Linked DNA regions of Homo sapiens: region 1 is linked to region 2. The links are contacts of gene promoters, found by promoter capture Hi-C in human tissues and cell types (Jung and others, 2019). All regions are on one chromosome and are shown on one strand. The core of a region is centred on a gene start or on the middle of the fragment in contact, and the rest is flanking DNA. Distances in the headings are between cores, read along the strand shown.

Region 1 (3,154 bases), core at 524-3,023, 250 kb after region 2:
CCTGTAATCCCACCTACTCTGGAGGATGAGGCAGGAGAATCACTTGAACCTGGGAGGCAGAGGTTGCAGCGAGCCGAGATCGCACCATTGCACTCCAGCCTGGGCAACAAGAGCGAAACTCTGTCTCAAAAAAAGAAAAAAAAAGGCCAGGCGTGGTGGCTCACACCGGGGGACAGAGCGAGACTCCGTCTCAAAAAAAAAAAAAAAACAGAAAAAACCACACAAACAAAAAAAGAAAAACAAACAAACAAGTTTTAACGTAAAAAAGCCCCTCAGTGGTGGCTCACACCTGTAATCCCAGCACTCTGGGAGGCCGAGGTGGGCGGATCACGAGATCAGATCGAGACCACCCTGGCTAACATGGTGAAACCCCGTCTCCATTAAAAATACAAAAAATTAGCTGGGCGTGGTGGCGGGTGCCTGTAGTCCAGCTACTCGGGAGGCTGAGGCAGAAGAATAGCGTGAACCCAGGAGGCAGAGGTTGCAGTGAGCCGAGATCGTGCCACTGCACTCCAGCCGGGTGACAGAGCGAGACTCCCCTCCACAGGAGAGTGGGGGCATCTGGCACCCTTGTTGCTGGTAGGGCCGAGCTGTGTGTTCCCTTCACAATGGGACACCCCCACAAGAAATCAGAGGCCTTCACTAAGCTGGAGTCATCAGGCAGCTGAGACCTGGCATCCTGACTCTGGTGTGTGAACATGGTTTGGTGGCATCGGTGACTCTCAAAAGGACAAGCTGTATTGTTACACAAGTCAAACACTGCCCAAACCATGACATCAAATCAGATATGGGTGCAACCTGGCCGCTGCAGGGGTCACCTAGTCGCCGCAAACGCTTGGGTTCAACCCAGGCCTCGCCCTTCTCACAAGCAGACTCCAAGATGCCCCAAATGCTGGAGATTCAAACCTCAATTCATGTCTCCACCAACAGCACACAACTGCTTCATACAATACTGGACTCCACGTAAGAGTTCACTGGGTGGCACCCGATTCTTTTTGAGATGGAGTCTCGCTCTGTCACCCAGGCTGGAGTGCAGTGGCGCGATCTCGGCTCACTGCAAGCTCCGCCTCCCGGGTTCACGCCATTCTCCTGCCTCAGCCTCCGGAGTAGCTGGGACTACAGGCGTCAATGGCACCTGATTCTAACCCACTTCTATAAAAGCTCATCTGAGTAATATTCAGGAACACTGATCTGCATGCAGCCATGAATATGAGGCCCTCCAAATACTAGAAGTTAACTTTAAAACTGTAATTTCATGGCCGGGCGCGGTGGCTCATGCCTGTAATCCTAGCACTTTGGGAGGCCGAGGCGGGTGGATCACCTAAGGTCAAGAGTTTGAAACCAGCCTGGCCAACATGATGAAACCCTATCTCTACTAAAAATACAAAAAATTAGCCGGGCGTGGTGGTGCACGCCTGTAATCCCAGCTGCTCGGGAGGCTGAGGCAGAAAAATCGCTTGAACCCAGGAGGCGGAGGCTGCAGTGAGCCGAGATCGAGCCACTGCACTCCAGCCTGGGCAACAAGACCAAAACTATCTCAAAAAATAAATAAATAAAATTACAATTTTATATGTAACCCCATCTTTTTCAGGCTCAAAATAATACCAAATAGAAGCTTGATAACAACCTAAACTCTTAACAACTGTTTATACAAAAGTATCAGAAGCAAGCGTGGTAGAAGAGGAGATCTTGAACCTTACAAGTGTCCACCCATTAATACATTCAGTTCCTCTTATTAAAAACTAGGGCTATTAACAGGGAGAGAGACTGAGTTACAGGGCAGTAATTCCGTCCCTTCAAAATCATGTGGCCACAGAGCAGGGTCCGTTCTCAGTCCTAGTTTCCCTTGACTTGACCCAGACCAGACTCCCTCCTCCTCCGAGCCCCGTCTTCACCGGCTGCCAGACACCCCACCCCCTGTCGGCCCTACACCGAGTGGAGGCTTGGTGCTCTTCTGCACTGACCCTCAGCCCTCGGGGCCTCAAAATGACAACTCCAAAATACCCAGCTCTGGCCCTGACCGTTCCCCTGACCCCAGGCTGCCCATCTGGCCGCCTCCCGAGAGGCCATGGGCGCTGTGACTCCTTCATCTTGGCCTAGGAAGCACCAGCCTTCAGCTGCTCACGCCAGATTCTTGCAGACATTGCAACTCCTCTTTTTCTCGGCTCTACCTTCCACAAACATCCCCTGCTACTGCCAGGACCAGGCCCCGGCCCCGATCCCGGCCCGGTCCACCGCAGCCCATCCCCGCACTGGCTCCTTGCTGCCCCCGACCCTCCCAGCAGCCAGAGGGACTTTTCACCCAGGCTCAGCCTGGGTCTCCCCAGCCACTGGGCAGGAAGGCAGCAGAGTCGGCTCCGCCCCCAGCCTCACTGGTCTTCCCCGACCCCTGGCTGGGGGGCGCTGGCAAACTCAGGGGTCGGAGGCGCCCCTGACCCTCCCGAGCACGCAGCCGGCTGAGGGTGCGGGGCTTCGGGGACACGAGGGGCCCACAGCTGAGCGTGGAGGGGCGACAGGGTGCGGGGGAGCGACGGACCCGGGACGGGGCAGGGCCGGGTGGGCCGCCCACGGGCCTCAGGCGGTACTGGGAGCCGCGACCCCGCGCAAAACCCCGGACCGTGCCCTGGCGCTGCTCCGAGCACGGCCGCGCGCGTTCCCGAACTTTCCCGCGCCAGCCACGCTCGGACTTGGTTTCCGGCCCAGCGGCTCAGAGAAATCCCCTCGGGCTGGCCCCGCCCCCGCCCCGCGGCCTCTCCCGCCCCCGCTCCCGCTCCGGCCCGGAGTCTCCCTGAGAGGTGCCCGCGCCTGCGCCCGACCCCGCGCCCGACCCCGCACCCGACCCCGCGCCCGCGCCCGACCCCGCACCCGACCCCGCGCTCGCCTCACCCAACGGTCGCAGCGCGCCCGGAACTAAGGGCCCGCCCAGCTACCGCCCCCAACGCCGCCGCCGCCGCCGCCGCTCCGCCGCGTGCGCCTGACGGACGGACATGGGAGCCAACCAGCCAGCCCTCAGGAAGCTGTAGCGAGAGCCATTGGCCAGATACGCCCCGCTCCGAGCGCGCCTGACGGACTGACGCCGGAGCCAACCAGCGAGCCCGCAGGAGCCGCAGCGTGCGCCGATTGGTCGGCGCTGAGACGGCGTGGGTACCTAAGT
Region 2 (3,232 bases), core at 592-3,091:
GAATATGTGACTGCAGCCACTGGCTACAGATGCATCCCCCCAGTCCCATCCCATGGTGTCCTGGGCTGGGGCACGGGGGTGGCTTGTGAAGTGGGGAGGGAGGATTTCTGAGAAAACTCTGGTGTGGGCCCTGCAGCTGCAGCTGTTTGAAGTGGTTCTCCCTCCCCCAGCTCTTGCTTCCAGCCTGCACCCAGAGGTGCTTGGCAAAGACCCGTAGGTCCGTGTGTGACCATGCAGGTGTTCACGCGTGTGCTAGGGTATGGTTATGTGCATCACATGCCCTGGCATGTCTGTTCGTGTACATGCGTGTGAATGACTGGAACCATGTGTGTAAATGTGCATGTTTGCACGTGCCTCTGGGAATGCATGCCAAGCCGTGTGTGGCACATGAGCAGGTGTCAATGGATCTGCATGTGTGCAGATGAGCATATGAAATTGATTGTGTGATGCTGAGGTGCATGAGTGTGTGCTAATGTAACATTTGGTGTGAGTGTGAGCATGTGTGTCCACAGATGTGGTGTGTCCATCAGGTAGGCACGTGTGAGCGGTGCTAGGCTGGATGTCTGTCTTGCCTCTTACATAAAGGGCTGCATTGCAGATCCTTGCAGCCTCATTGGAATTCAGCAGGCGCTCGGCCCAGGGGCGGACAGCTCCGACAGGCAAAATCCCAGGAGCCACGTCCTCCCCCGCAGCGCTGGCTGCCGACAGCTCCCATGCCCTGATGCCTCTCGCGTGTGCACCCCCACTCCCACCCCCACAAAGCGTCCTGCCGTGGCACCTGAGCCATTTCTCTTCCCAGGCGGACCCATCGGTAGGGGGAAGGGACGAAAGAAAGGGCAGGAGAACCTGGAAGCAGAAACAAAGATGGCCCCAGGCCCCGTCCTGTTTAAAGCTCTGCAGGGCGGGCATGTAGCTGGACAGGCGCTTCTACTCTCTTACCCGGAATGCCCACCCCCACACTGACACACTCCAGCCCCACGTCTACACACACCAGTCAGGGCCTGGAGCCCCAGGGGCCCTCTGAGGACCAGCCAAGGTGGCAGGTGACTGGTCTCAGGCCAAGATAGGGGAGCCAGCAGACCCTGGTGTTTGGTTCCTAGTGAGACGAGGCCTCCCGGAAGCAGCCAGCTGACTCTGGGGTGGTGTCTTACAGGGAGGAAGGGGGCACGGAAAGGATGGAATGAAACTGGGGGTGTGGGGTTGCAGGATGGAGGAGAGGGGAGGTGGGTGGCGGAGGTGGGGGAGGGCACCTGGCTGGAGATGAGGTCCTCGCACACCGACAGAGCCATCTGGATGGCGTTGGGCTTGTGCGTGACGGAGGTGGCATTGAGCTGAATCTTCCAGGAGCCGTGCCGCTTGTTGGCCTGGTTCACGGCCTCGCGGAACATCTGCTCGTGCTTCCGCGTGCTCAGCACCGCGCCAATGTTGACGATCTTGGGGTCGCACGCGGCACGGGCGACGGAGCAGGAGAACAGCAGGGCGAGCGTCAGCAGGCGCATGGTGCTCATGGGCTCGGGCCGCGGGCCTGGCTCTGCGCGGCGCGAACGCGGGGCCCTCGGCGCATCCCCCGCGGGGCTTCCGGGCCGTCCTGCGCTCGCCCGGCCCCGCGGGCTGCGGACGCCACGTCTCCCCCGGAGCGGCGGTCCCGGGACGTCGGCCGAGGGAAGGGGCGCTGAAGCGTGCGCGGGGGCTCGGGGCTCAGCCCCACGCGGCCGGCGCTGTCCGCGGTGCTGAAGCGGGGCCGGGCACAGCTCCGAGCGCCCGGCTTGGAAAGGGCCCGGCGGCGGCGGCGGCGGCTCCGCGGACGGCGCTGGTTCCGGTCCGGACGCTGCGGCGACTGCAGCAGCTGCAGAAACGCGAGCGGGGCCAACGTCTCCTGCCCCTCCCGCCGCCCCCGCTTCCCAACACGGAGGCGAAGGGGGCGCCTCCCGCGCCAGAGCGTGCGCCTGCGTTCGCGTGAGCGTGTGTGTCGGAGCGCGCGTGAGCCGGGGAGCGCGCGTGTGCGTGTGAGCGCGTGCCTGGAGGGGTCCTGGGACAGGGGCCTGTGCTGTCGGGGACCTGCAGGGAGCTCAGTTTGGAAACGTTAGAGGGGTCCGTGTCACCGCGTGCAGCCCGCACCCTTGCGTGCCTTTTAATAGGACCGAACGCGTCGTGCCCGCTTGTATGTGTGTGTGCGCGCAAGAGTCGTCACCCACAGTCAGCGATATTTCGGCTCCTGACTCTTGCAGACTGGAGCTCCAGAGGGGTGGGGGAGGCCCTAAGCCATGGCTCTGGGGGGCGCTCCCTTCAAGGTTCCCCTCCCCACAAGGTTCAGAAATGAGGGAGAGGCCCCATCTGCGTGGCCATGTAACTTGGGACCCCCCTCCTCGGGCTAAGAGGAATAGGGAGGGTGACCGTGGCTGCCGCATGTGCTCAGCCAGGCCTTCCGCGAGAGCCTGGAAACTGGACCCGCACTGACTGGGGCTGAGGTCGGACACCAGGAATCACTGGAGCGCCGCGAGGTGTGTTCGGGGCCAGCCGTTTCACACCCTCAGCTTCCGCTCCTCTCTCCCTCTCCAGCCCCCTCGCAATGCGCTCCCAGCGCCCCCTTTTCCAGAGCCTTACCCATCCCTCTGGTCCACACCACCCTGTCTTTGTCCCCCTCCACCCCTGGAGTGTGCGTGCCCCTCCCTAACTTGAAGGATGGCTGAAGCTCCGCCCCTGCCAGTGATGTCACCATTTCCAATAGCAACTGAGGATTCTGCAGACCTAACAGCAAACGCCCCCAATGGGACAAAACAGGGTCGTCACCACACCTCTGCTATGTGCAGCAGTGCAGCAAGGGAAGTCATGTGCCCACAGGGGTCACACTCTCTCTCCCGCTTGCCGTTCTCTCCATCAGCCGAACACTGGCACCAGGGACCCCCTGGAGCTGAGAGGAGGGGGAGGGGCTGTGGTGTTTGACAAGCTCCTCCTCTTGGCCCCTTCTCTCTCAATACAGGAAAATCTTTCCTTGGGGGATCACCTGCCCGTACCCTGCTGCAGACCCCGCCTCTCCCCGTTCGGGTTGAGGCACACGGGTCATCCGCCTCGGGGCCCTCACTCCTTCTGTTGGCTCTCAGGAGGGTGTGTGTGGGTGCTCAGGGGGACTGAGCTGGCCCTATCTCCAGGAGTTTGTGGCCCATCTCCAAACTTCCACCTCGGCAGGGCACAGTGGCTCATGCCTGTAATCTCAATACTTTGGGAGGCAAGG

What was found. Contacts are between HindIII fragments. The study calls those that stand out against the background at their distance.
Region 1: a contact is called between a fragment that was not itself captured here and the fragment with the promoter of GRIN1 in region 2, in 1 of the 25 tissues and cell types used here (lymphoblastoid cells).

The regions. Positions count from the first base shown.
Region 1 is chr9:136,886,274-136,889,427 of GRCh38, reverse strand. It overlaps TRAF2 (TNF receptor associated factor 2), which reads right to left and starts at 2,912. Exons shown (of 11, transcript NM_021138.4): 1 at 2,887-2,912. MIR4479 (microRNA 4479) reads right to left here and starts at 2,695; the gene lies at 2,625-2,695. RefSeq lists enhancers at 1,480-2,215, 2,216-2,951 and a silencer at 2,328-3,137. The HindIII fragment of the contact is 4,160 bases long and covers 1-3,154 here.
Region 2 is chr9:137,137,763-137,140,994 of GRCh38, reverse strand. GRIN1 (glutamate ionotropic receptor NMDA type subunit 1) reads right to left here and starts at 1,841. Exons shown (of 20, transcript NM_007327.4): 1 at 1,251-1,841. The coding sequence starts at 1,508. RefSeq lists a silencer at 2,004-2,298. The HindIII fragment of the contact is 23,460 bases long and covers 1-3,232 here.